Linked DNA regions of Homo sapiens: region 2 is linked to region 1. The links are contacts of gene promoters, found by promoter capture Hi-C in blood cells and fetal thymus (Javierre and others, 2016). All regions are on one chromosome and are shown on one strand. The core of a region is centred on a gene start or on the middle of the fragment in contact, and the rest is flanking DNA. Distances in the headings are between cores, read along the strand shown. Region 1 holds the start of PNPLA5 (patatin like domain 5, triacylglycerol lipase). Region 2 overlaps LOC105373053 (a long non-coding RNA gene).

Region 1 (3,146 bases), core at 233-2,732:
TCCTATTTCATTTCAATACTGGATGGTTCCTTACCTCCTTACTTGGAGATGAGTTCATTATCGATACCGCCTGCCCCCCAGAACCACTGAGCATAGAAGCCCCAGGAAGGCAAGGGTTTCTGTCTGTTTTGCTCCCTGTTACAGTCACAGTGCCTAGAATAGTGACTGGCACATAATAGGTGTTCAATAAATGTCAACCCACCGCCAAAAAGCGGCGGGAGGATGGAGTGGGGTGGAGGCTGGGGCTAGCCAGCTGCCCTCTGGAAAGAGCAGTCCCTGTGGGGGCCCTGACTCAGCAGCCTGACTCTGCCGGGCCCCAGCCAGACCCTTCTGTGTGCAGCAACCTGGAAAGTCTCCAGACCCACCCTGCCGACCCTCTCTGGGCCTCAGTTTCCTCACCTACAAACAGGTCCACCCGCCCTCCCTCCTTCCGCCCCTGCAGAAACGTCTGACGGGGAAGTACCTGGATGTCACTCTGGACTAGATGGAGCCCGCCCACCAGCCAAGCCCTGGGCACCCCCCGCCCCACACCTGGATGAGCTCATCGCAGGTGGCGAAGTCAGTGACCAAGAAGTTGCGTCCGTCAGGCCAGCGGGTCAGCGAAATGCCCAGCCGCTGGGAGGCCAGGACGTGGGCGTCGGGGGGCAGAGCATCCTGCAGCTGCTGCTTGACGTGCTCGATGGGCGCGTAGGCCGGGTGCAGGATGCTTAGGCTCAGCCGCTCCAACTGCCCAACCATGCCCAGGAGGTGGGAGCAGCAGAAGTCTGCAGTGGGGGCAGGGAAAGGGAGACCTCAGCGCCCAGGGATCCTGCCAGTCCCTCCACACCCCCACTGCCCTCCTAGGTGCAGTGGGAGCGGGGTCCTCCCCACTCCAGCTCAGAATTTCTGGGCTCGGCCCCGGATTCAAATGATCCGTTCACCTTTTCACTTTTTGCCCCGCCGACCTGGGAAACAGAGTTTCTGGCTCTGAGCCACGATCCCTCCTCTGCAAATGGGGGTCACCTAGTCCCCAGCACTCGGTGTTCTCATGGGATTAAATGAGGCTGTGCCGGGGGTAGAGGGCGCAGAGCACAGCGCCAGGCACCAGCGTCTCTGGGCTCGATCCGCTTTCATTAAGCTGTCCCCGCCCCTTTTCGCCCCCGCGGTCCGGGACTCACCGACCGACTTGCCGCAGACGATGCTGACTGCGTTGAGCGCCCCAGACGAGGAACCGTAGATGCGGCGGGCGCCCTGGAGGAGGCGCGGGGCTCGCTGGCGCAGGCATTCGGTGGCGCCCACGTGGTGGGCGCCCAGGTAGCCGGCGCCGGAGAAGGACAGGTTCCATCTGCCCTCCTCCTCTAAGAAGCCCATGGCGGGTGGACCGGGCGGGGTGATCGGGACGAGGAAGGGTCACTCCGTGACCCGGGATAGGGCCGGGATGCAGCCTTGGACGGGGCTGGGCCCAAATGTGGGCTCTGGAGGGAGCCGGGCTGGGGCTGGTGCTGGTGCTCCCTGCGCCGCCCCCGGGCTGCGTCACCTGCGCCCCAGCCAATGAAGTCCCCGGGTCGCGATCAGCCCCCACTCCAGTTGTGCGCCAGGTGTGCCCCAGAAGTGCCCGCGCGCTGTGTATACGCTGGCGCCGCCCCCACGCGCCCGCCCCGGATCCGCATCGGGTCATAGATTTCTGGGTGACACGGCAGGGGAGTGGGACCAAATCTTGCCTGATCTCTGGTAGTCTGGGCAGATGTTATTCCAGTCCTCATTACGCAAATGAGGCAACTGAGGCGCAGCCCAGGATGGTGACAGCCAGGAAGTGGCAGAGTCGGACCCAGGACACCTGGTCTTTGGGGTCAAACCAGGCTTAAGTCCGCAGCTGTGCTGGTTCCAGGGAGGGACTTGAGGGAAAGAGAGGTCTCGGGGCCAGCCTCCGCTCCAGCCAGCACCACTGCACCTTCCCCTGGCTCACCCGCTCTCCAAGCCTCACCTACCACTACAGCCTGCTCAAACATCCCACCTCCTCCCTCCTCCCCTAATCAATCCATTGGAAAGTGCTTTATAAACTGCAAAGCTCCAAGAACTTGGGTTTGTAGTGATTAGGGCTGTCTGGGCTCCAATTCTGGCTCCAGAATGTCTTGGCTGGTGACCCTGGATAATTTAACTGATCTGTGCCTCAGTTTTCTCATCCATCAAGTGGGGATAATAACATTACTTACTCCATAGGACCGGTAAGGATTAGAGTTAATGCAAGTAACGTGTTTGGAATAGCGCCCGGCACTGGATAAGCACACAAACAATGGTTACTACGGTGATTGTTTTAATCAAGTGGCGCACAATCAATGGCAACCGCTATGTTATTTATTTATTTATTTAATTTTGAGGCAGAGTCTCACTCTGTCACCCAGGCTGGGGTGCAGTGGCACAATCTCGGCTTACTGCAACCACCACCTCCCAGGTTCAAGCAATTATCCTGCCTCAGCCTCCCAAGTAGCTGGGACTACAGGCACGCACCACCACGCCCAGCTAATTTTTGTTATTTTCGGTAGAGACAGGGTTTCACCATGCTGCTCAGGCTGGTCTCGAACTCCTGGCCTCAGATGATCTGCCCACCTCAGCCTCCCAAAGTGCTGGGATTACAGGCAGGAGCCACTGCGCCCATCCCTGTGTTACTGCTTTAATCACATGGCACATATCAGTGCCTTCTCATGTGAGCTCCTTGAGGGCCAGGTCCTCCATCTGTGCCTGGAAGAAGTGTGGCACAGTGTTTGTGGACTGAATGCTCAGCCCATGGCCTGGGTGGGTCATTTTCGGAGGAAGAGGTGGGAGGATCTGCTTCTCTTAGCCTCACACCTACCTCTTCCTTGACCTGGGAGTGAAGGGCAGCTTGCCCATGGGCACTGGGTGCAGAAGGCACCCTGGGACAGGCCAGCCCAGCCTCCCCTCCCACAGAGGTGGGCGGTACCGGGCTTTGCTGATCCCACACCAGGGGCGGCATCCTTGCCTCAAAGACCATGGGCCTGCACAGACTCACCCACCTGGTGGCAGGTACCCCAGGCTATCTCCATTGCGGGAAGGACCCAGCCCCAGCTGCAGGGGGTAATTAGAAGCCATGTGCTGACTCTGCTCCAGGAGGGAACCAGGTCACAGCAGGCACAGCCAGGAACATTTCA
Region 2 (3,344 bases), core at 539-3,038, 510 kb before region 1:
GCCCGTAACCCCAACACTTTGGGAGGCTGAGGTGGGTGGATCACTTGAGGTCAGGAGTTTGAGACCAGCCTGGTCAACATGGTAAAACTCTGTCTCTACTAAAAATACAAAAATTAGCTGGGTGTGAAGGCATGTGCCTGTAATCCCAGCTACTTGGGAGGCTGAGGCAGGAGAATGGCTTGAACCCGGGAGGCAGAGGTTGCAGTGAGCCGAGATCGTGCCATTTGCACTCCAGCCTGGGAGACAGAGGAAGACTCCATCTAAAAAAAAAAAAAAAAAAAAAAAAAAAAAAGGAACAACCAGATTTGAAAAAGAATCAAATAAAATGTACAGAAGTGAAAAATGTAGCATTTGAAATTTGAAATGAGCAGAGCGAGCAGCAGATTACACACAGCCAAAGAGAGGTTTAATAAGCTAGTAGAACCAAAGGAATTATCCAGAAAAATTAAGTGGCAGGGCCTAATGTACGTGTATTTAGAGTTCTAGAAGGAGCTAACAGAATAGGAGAACGGGCAATACACGAAGAGGTAATGGCTGATACTTTTGTGAAATTATACATAACAAATCTCAGATCCAGGAAGCCCAGTGAATCCCAAGCAAGATAAATAAAAAGAAATTCACATTTACATACATCCCAAGAAAACTATGGAACATCAGAGAAAAAGAGATGTTGAAAGCATCTGGCTAGGCGCCGTGGCTCACACCTGTAATCCCAGCACTTTGGGAGGCCGAGGTGGGCAGATCACCTGAGGTCAGGAGTCCAAGGCCATCCTGGCCAACATGGTGAAACACTGTCTCTACTAAAAATACAAAAATTAGCCTGGCATGGCGGTGGGCACTTATAATCCCAGCTACTGGGAAGACTGAGGCAGGAGAATCACTTGAACTCATGTGGCGGAGGTTGCAGTGAGCCGAGATCACCCCATTGCACTCCAGCCTGGGCAACAAGAGTGAAACTACGCCTCAAAAACAAACAAACAAACAAAAGCCCCCCAAAACAAAACAAGACAAGCAAACAAACAAAAAAACTCTAAAGGATCATTTACAGCTGATGTATCACTATCCTCAATGGAAACCAGGAGACAGTGGAATTATATCTTTCATGTGCTGGAAAAAAAACAACGGTCAACTTAGAACTCTTTACTATCCTACTGAACTGAGGGTGAAATGAAGACATATTCAGACAAAAAGAAATGGTGAGATTTTACCTCCAAAAGATCTTCACTAAGGACACATTTAAATGTAATGTAGTTCAGACAGAATCAAAATTATTCCAGAGAAAAGGCAAGGCATACAAGAAGGAACAATGGGCACATATGTTGGAAACATTTGATGGAAAACTAAACAACAACGGAGTATAGGACTCCACGATAATAATGCCTAACTTATGGTAGGAAAAATGGGCTAGTATTAAAATACTGGACAATACCATATAATATGGGACGGATGCTCAAAATTCAAGTTGTGAATGTCTTTCCATTATTTGGGGAGAAGGCAAATATATTAAGTTTAGACTTTGTTAAGTGCTCAGTGTTAAGATAGCTAGAGTAAGCACTAAAAACTAGTCATAGAGCTGATAACTTCTAAATAATTAGAAAGAAAAAATAGGATAAGAAAAAGAAGATAAAAATCTCAAATGATACAAAGGAAGATTAGAAAGGGGGCTGAGGGTAGGAAATATAGAATGAATAGAAAATACATTATGAGACCATGGAAATTAATCTACATTTATGTTGTCAGTAATTCATATTAAAGGACTAAACACTTTAGTTGAAAGATGACTGTCTGAATGAATTTTAAAAACAGAGATTATGTTCTGTTTACAAGAGAGCATAATCCCATACCTCAAACATAGGAACCAAGAACTGTTGAAAGTCCAAGTATAGAAAAAATATGTGGCCGGGCACAGTGGCTCACGTCTGTAATCCCAGCACTTTGGGAGATTGAGGCAGGTGGATCACCTGAGGTTGGGAGTTCGAGACCAGCCTAAAAAACATGGAGAAACCCCGTCTTTACTAAAGAGACAAAAAATTAGCCAGGTGTGGTGGTGCACACCTGTAATCCCAGCTACTCGGGAGGCTTAGGCAAGAGAATCGCTTGAACCCAGGGGGTGGAGGTTGCAGTGAGCTGAGATCGTGCCATTGCACTCCATTATCTAGTGATCCAGAGTCACTAGATAATGGTGGAAGGCTCAATTCACCAGGAAGCTGTACCAGTTCTCAATTTATATATAATATCATCATAGCTGCAAAAAATATAAAGCAAAAATGGAAGGGACAAGAATAGATATCTCCACCTTTAGGATGGGATATTTTTAGGCCATTTTGGTGAAGAAATCAAAGATTTGAGGAACACAATGACAAGTTTCATATAATCAACATGTAGCATATGAAACCCCGAAATGGGGGAGAACACATTCTTTTCAAGCATGCATGGGACATTTGGAAAGTATCATAGACTATAAAGCTAACCTCAATGCACGTCCAAGATCAGGCTGGTAGGTCGGATCTCCTGGGAGTCAGGCTCTGAGATGGGGATTGGGGTGCAGGAATTTTATTTGGGAACATTCCTTGGATCAGCACTTGTGGAATGCATGGGATGAGACAGGTCTGCACAGATGGAGAGGTGGAGCAGCAATGCAATACCCACGGAAGCCTCTGCCAGCTCCGCAGAGAGTGCTGGAGCTGGGTAGTCCTTCAGAAGGGTGTGAGTTGGTAAGGAACCAGGCCTTTACATTCTCACCCTGAGCAGCCATTGCATGCAGGCTGCTCATTGAAGGAGGCATGGTCTTGACTGGGCAAGTCAATTTCCTCAGCCCACATAACTTCCTAAGAGAGCAGACAGCTGGGGGCCATCCTCCAGCAGCTCTCGCAGCAGCTGGGGGACTAAGTCCTTCGTTCCGGAAGAGGAAGCTGTGCTGTAGTCATAGCTTCCACCACAATGTGTACACAGACTATATTCTCTGATCACAATCTAAACAAGTTAGATGTTAATAACCAAAAAGACAACAAGCAAATGCCTGTACTTTAGGAAAAACAGTACATCCAAACAACTCGCGGTCCAAAAACGAAATCACAACTAAAATTAGAAAATACTTAGAATTGAGCATTCACAAAAATGTTTTGCATCACGACTTGTGAGATCCAACCAAAGCAGTATTTAGAGGAGTGTTTATAATCTTAAATGCTTGTATTGGCAAATAAGAAATGCTTCATGGCCCAGGTGTGGTGGCTCACGTCTGTAATCTCAGAACTTTGAGAGGCCGAGGTGGGTGGATTGCTTGAGCCCAGGAGTTCGAGACCAGCCTGGGCAACCTGGCAAAACCATGTCTCTACAAAAAATAC

What was found. Contacts are between HindIII fragments. The CHiCAGO score rates a contact against its expected background, and 5 or more counts as called.
Region 2: a fragment that was not itself captured here is called in contact with the fragment with the promoter of PNPLA5 in region 1 in 2 of 17 cell types (M2 macrophages and megakaryocytes); the score reaches 5.7 in M2 macrophages.

The regions. Positions count from the first base shown.
Region 1 is chr22:43,890,531-43,893,676 of GRCh38, forward strand. It overlaps PNPLA5 (patatin like domain 5, triacylglycerol lipase), which reads right to left and starts at 1,483. Exons shown (of 9, transcript NM_138814.4): 1 at 1,158-1,483; 2 at 532-764. The coding sequence starts at 1,350. The HindIII fragment of the contact is 5,727 bases long and covers 1-3,146 here.
Region 2 is chr22:43,379,006-43,382,349 of GRCh38, forward strand. The region is part of intron 3 of LOC105373053 (a long non-coding RNA gene); the gene reads right to left. Among named protein-coding and RNA genes, the nearest start is that of LINC01639, 20 kb to the right of the region's middle. The HindIII fragment of the contact is 5,976 bases long and covers 1-3,344 here.